Linked DNA regions of Homo sapiens: region 2 is linked to region 1. The links are contacts of gene promoters, found by promoter capture Hi-C in human tissues and cell types (Jung and others, 2019). All regions are on one chromosome and are shown on one strand. Each heading gives the region's core, a stretch centred on a gene start or on the middle of the fragment in contact. The rest is flanking DNA. Distances are from core to core; before and after follow the strand shown. Region 1 holds the start of MPP4 (MAGUK p55 scaffold protein 4). Region 2 overlaps KIAA2012.

Evidence for each region. The method cuts DNA at HindIII sites, captures the fragments that hold promoters and counts their contacts. A contact is called where the count stands out against the background at its distance.
Region 2: a fragment that was not itself captured here is called in contact with the fragment with the promoter of MPP4 in region 1 in 1 of the 25 tissues and cell types used here (mesendoderm cells).

The regions. Positions count from the first base shown.
Region 1 is chr2:201,697,340-201,700,039 of GRCh38, forward strand. MPP4 (MAGUK p55 scaffold protein 4) reads right to left here and starts at 1,305. Exons shown (of 22, transcript NM_033066.3): 1 at 1,248-1,305. RefSeq lists enhancers at 1,935-2,436, 2,437-2,700. The HindIII fragment of the contact is 2,902 bases long and covers 963-2,700 here.
Region 2 is chr2:202,191,835-202,194,534 of GRCh38, forward strand. It overlaps KIAA2012, which reads left to right. Exons shown (of 24, transcript NM_001277372.4): 20 at 1,467-1,669; 21 at 2,356-2,528. Among named protein-coding and RNA genes, the nearest start is that of SUMO1, 45 kb to the right of the region's middle. The HindIII fragment of the contact is 7,310 bases long and covers 1-2,700 here.

The DNA of each region.
Region 1 (2,700 bases), core at 55-2,554:
CAGGTAGCTAAGAAAACAGTTGCAACTTCTTGCCCTCATAGCACTTCTCATTTTCCCAGTTCTTGTATCCACTGGCTTGCTCAGTGTCTGTCTCCCGCAGGTGTCATGTCTGCAGAGGGCCTGGGGAGCAGAGATGTTGCTTATCTTGTTCATGCTGCAGCTTCACCTGCAACAGTGCTTGGGCCATAGCAAGCACTTGGTATGTTCAGTTGTTGTTGGGAAGGGGTAGAACAAGGAGAGGCCAAGATCCAGAAGTAAAAGGCTGATACCTCCCTCAAGGCAGTAGCCAGCAGCTGGGACTTCAATCCTAATGGGGGAGGCAGCTGAACTCCAGAGGCCTGTGCCCTCCCTTCCTTTCCTCCCTGGCCTGGTATCCTGACTTAAACCTCTTTCCCTATCAAACTTTAAAACTGGGGGCAGAAGCGGATCTTAGAGATAATCAAATGCAAAACCTTTGTTTTACAGATAAGGAATCTGACATTCAAGGAGGTATTCAGTAGAGTTAACATGTAGTAAAATCGAGTTTTCCTCTTTTGTTTCCTTAGTCCTGAAAGATGCTGATGCCTGGCATGATGCCTGGCAAAAGACTTACCTTCCTTTCCATGACTTCTGTACCAAATTTGTCAGTTGAAGCTTATCTATTTCTGCTATCTTGAGAGTGAGAATTCTTGATTGAGACTGCAAATAAGTAAGCACCCACCACATGCAATTCCGGACTGAGTACACAGAAAGGATAGCCAGTTCTTGACTCAGAAGATGCATTAGTGTGACTGATGCCTAAGGAATTTGTCCTAAATCTTGTTTTAAAAGTATTTCCATTAGCTTTTTAAAACGTACTATTAAATGCCACAACCCCCTACCCTTACTATGCTTGTTTTTCAAAATAGTGCTTTTTACTAGACAAACCCTAAAAAAGCACTTGGAAACTTAATGATGAGAAATGGCCCTTACAAAAATAGCTGGCTTCCTCTGGGTCCAAATGCTGTTGATTAGGACCAGGGCAAATGCCCATTGTACTCAATCTTCCTGACAACTCATTATTCCATACTGAAGAAATGGCTTCTCGAAGCAAAACCTGCTCTTTCAAGATCATAAAATTCCCCATATCATTTGAGTTAAAATGAAACTAAGCCATTTGAGTTAGATTACCCAGATTTATATCTTTAGCTATTAAAAACTGACAGGCAAGCTAGGCAGTTATGGATACATCTTCTGGTAACTGAGGATTATTTGCCAAGGTCTCTTACCTGCAAGACTGTAAACATGCATGTTGCTCCTATCCAGACAAAAGCTTTAGTAGGATACTAGTGGCCTGTTAGCTGCCAAAGTCACCTCACTGCTCCCGATAAAATCTCTGCACATCCTCTTTGATGTAATCCACAGATGCCTAACCCAGCCTAACAACTAAATTACTCACAAGCCTTTCCTGCCACAAATCTTCTTAAGTATTCCTTGAAGTCTAATTTGTATCATTTTCAAACCTACATTCTAGTATTTTCTCTCAAATTGCCAACACATAGTTAACGGCAGAAAAACATAGTATTTTTGTTGATTAGTTCAAGATGACAGACATTCCACAACAGAAGATAGCATTTTTAATGAAAGAAAAAAATGTGGCAGGACCGGAAATAAGCCAATAACCTACTAACCTTATTAAATCTCTCATGTTATGGTGAGAAAACAACTGAAGACTGTTCAGCTAATAATAGAAACCCATCAAAAACAGTACCTTCTGGTCAATCCCCTCCCAAGCCACTGTTCTGAACCTAACAAATAGTGCTTTCTGTCTCAGATAGGAGCTACTTCTTTATCTGAAAACTTAATACTGCAGGGAGTGCTCAGTGGGGAGAGCATTTGGAAGGGGATATTGCAGAAAGGAGAGGAAGGTATTGCTGACAGCAAGGCAAAAGGTAGAGACCAAATGGCAATTATCAGAGGGTCCTCAGCCCTTCTACCCATATTAATCACATGGCTTTCCTTATCTCTCCATCATAGATGAAAACACAAGTTGGGAATGTGATACATTTGTGTTTTGAGTACAGCATATTTTGTGAAAAGCACTTGATTTCAATAAGATTTTCATTTTTAACTCACTTTTAAGAACTTTCAATACATAACCAGCTATGAAATGACATCTCTGGCAGCTGTAGTAGCAAAAAGCACTGGACTTCTAGGGAAGTAGGGAGTAGGGAAGTTCTAGGCTGGAGTCCCAGCTCTGGCAGTGAGCAAATCTTGGTCACTGCTTGTCTGAAAAATGGGGGGAAATGGGGATAACACCTGCATCCTTGGGCTGCTGTAAGCATTCATTACGCATGTGAATGACCATTGTAAACTGCTGCAGGAGTGCCAAGGACTTCTATTTACAAACATTGGCCTGGAGATTTAGGGTTTTTCTTCCAATACACTTCAAAATTTATAACTTTAATATGCTATCTGAAAAGCATATAGTAGGAAGAATCCAAAGTAACTGAACAGTTTCATTCAAGACTCCAGTAAAAGGACGAATTGTAACATGGCTTTTCTTAGAACAGAGACAGCCTATCATCATTGGAAATCTTCTCAATGGGTCAATTTGTCTCAAAGTTTTTGTTTGTCCATTTCCACATATTATCCACCCCCGCCCAGAGTCAGAAATTCTGTAAATTTGGCTTTACCAGGCAAATGTGGTTATTTATGTGTTTGTTCAGAAACTCAAAACAA
Region 2 (2,700 bases), core at 103-2,602, 490 kb after region 1:
CCAGGTATGATTAGCCCCATTTTACAGATCCAGAAATAGAAACTAGAAAGAGTTAAATGCAGGTTGCCAGAAATTGCACAACCATTGAGTGGTAGAGCCAAGACTTAAGCTTAGGTCCTTTGACTCCAACTTCAGGACTCTTGTCACCATTTTAAATTATTATCTATTTACTTATTTTATGGCTCATGGTCTTCCAAAAAGGATTCCAGGAAGATTTTCCTTTATAGTTCTCAGTCCCTCCCAGCTTCCTGGATCACACAATTCGGCTCTGCACAACAGATGAAAATTTTAACCTATGGGCCGAACTTTTCTGAACCTGCGGGATCATCAGCATTTCTTAGATTTATTGTCAATCCATAATACTATGCTGCCTCTGCAAAGACTAAAAAGCAAGGAGCTTTTTCTCTGAGTTGGATACACAGAGTTCCTAGAAGGCTTGCCTCTCAAGGTTCCCTTCATAGGCATATTTCTGAGGAAGAGGCACTAGGGAGAAAAAGAAAGCTATGACAACCTTCCTATAAACTGAAAGAACAACCTTCCATTGGAAAGGTGAGTTTCTGTGGGATTAAATGTGAATCTGACCCATCTATACCTAAGATTGCCCCTGGTAAAATAGCTTCTTTTTTTTTTTTTTTTTTTTTAGAGGGAGCTTCACTCTTTTTGCCCAGGCTGGAGTGCAATGGCGCAATCTCGGCTCACCGCAACCTCTGCCTCCCGGGTTCAAGCAATTCTCCTGCCTCAGCCTCCCAAGTAGCTGGCATTACAGCCACGTGCCACCATACCTGGCTAATTTTGTATTTTTAGTAGAGATAGGGTGTCTCCATGTTGGCCATGCTGGCCTGGAACTCCTGACCTCAGGTGATCTACCCACCTCAGCCTCCAAAAGTGCTAGGATTACAGGCATGAGCCATGCCCGGCCCCTTGTTTTTATATTTTTGAGGCAGAGTCTTGCTTTGCCACCCAGGAGTGCAGTGGCATGATCATAGGTGACTTGTTACCTTGAACCCCTGGGCCCAAGCAATCCTCCCACTTCAGCCTCCCAAAATGCTGGGATTACAGGCATGAACTGCTGCACCCAGCCACAAGTAATTTTTGAAAGCTCCTTGGGTGATTCTAAAGTGCAGCCATGGTTGAGAACTCTAGAACCTACCATGTACTGGACATTATGTTGGCACTTTCATTATTTCAGCTAATCCTGGCAACAGTACCATGAGGAAGACAATATCGGGAAGTTTAAGTTGTGATCCCTAAATCCCAAAGCAAGTAAGAGAGAGAGTTGAATCCAGGTTAATCAGACCCAAAAGTCCAAGCTGGTGGTGGCTGAGTCTATGCAGCTGTGGGCAAAGTGTGGAGTCTGTTTTATGATTCCATCTTTGATTAGAGACAACACTGTCTGGGGTGGAGAAGGGCTCACTGCTGAGACAGACCCATCTGTTTATTGCACTGAGAACACTCTGGTTTCTTAGGCCCTCCTCACTAAGAGGGAGCAGGAGAAGGCTTCCTGGGACAGGCTTCGAGCAGAAAGAGCCGAGATGAGGTGGCTGGAGGTGGAGAAGAAGAGAAGGGAGCAGGAAGAGCAAAGGCAGCTCCAGCAGGAGCAGCTGGAGAGAGCAAAAAAGATGGAGGAGGAGCTGGAGCTGGAGCAGCAGAGACGTACAGAAGAGATCCGGTAGGTTGGGCAAGCCAAAGAGACTACAGCCATGTTAGGAAGCAGAAGAAAAAGACAGTGGTTGACCTCCCCTAGGGGCAATGTTTGGTTCTGAGGCTCATGCCCTGAAGTTAAAATAGCATGTGTCATTTTTCTCTATCCTCAGTTTTCCTAGGAACAACACTCACCAGAGATAAACTGTAGCGTCTCAACCATGTGCATTGGTACACTCTGCTGAATGTCACTCTCTTTCAAGTTTAGAACCCCATGTGAGGGTTACTCACATTGATGACCCTGAGATCTTCTTGGGAAGGCTCTGAGATTCAGTCCAGAAAACACTTGTCAAGCCCCTGCACTTTGTGGTCTGCACTGTGCTAGGCCCTTTCACAGGCCTCAACTGCAATTTAATCTTCACAACCCTGTGAGGCAAGAGTTTTGAAATCCATAAGCATGAAAAATGAACTTAAGACCCCTGCTGCAGAGCACAGAGCTGTGTACTGAAACTTCTAGGCTTCTGGTTTCAAGCCCGCTGGGCTCTTTGCTCTTCAATCCTGGCTTCCCTTGGAAAACTGAGTCTCCTGGGAATAGGTTGCTCCCTGTGGCCTGTGGGCTGCAGAGCCTCCCCCATGGGCACTGTCTGTTGGCTCATCTCACAAGGATGCCTCAGTGTTTTCTGCCATTTCCCTGACCATCTTGGGTTTTCTCAGCTTGAGGAAACAGAGACTCCAAGAAGAACAGCAGCGGCAGGAGGAGGAGGAGAGAAAGCAGCAGCTCCGGTTGAAAGCAGCCCAGGAGAGAGCCCGGCAACAGCAAGAGGAGTTTCGGAGGAAACTGCGAGAACTACAGAGAAAAAAGCAGCAGGAGGAAGCCGAGAGGGCCGGTGAGGGGGTTCTTGAGCTCTTTGCATCTCTCTTCTACTTGGGGCAGAAACACTTTTATCCAGCTGTGAGTGTTCATTTATTCCTATCCTAGGCCTTAGTGTGTTAAGCACTCTAAATAATATAAACTATTTTTCAAAGTGATTATGTATGACTATAATTTGTTAATATAGA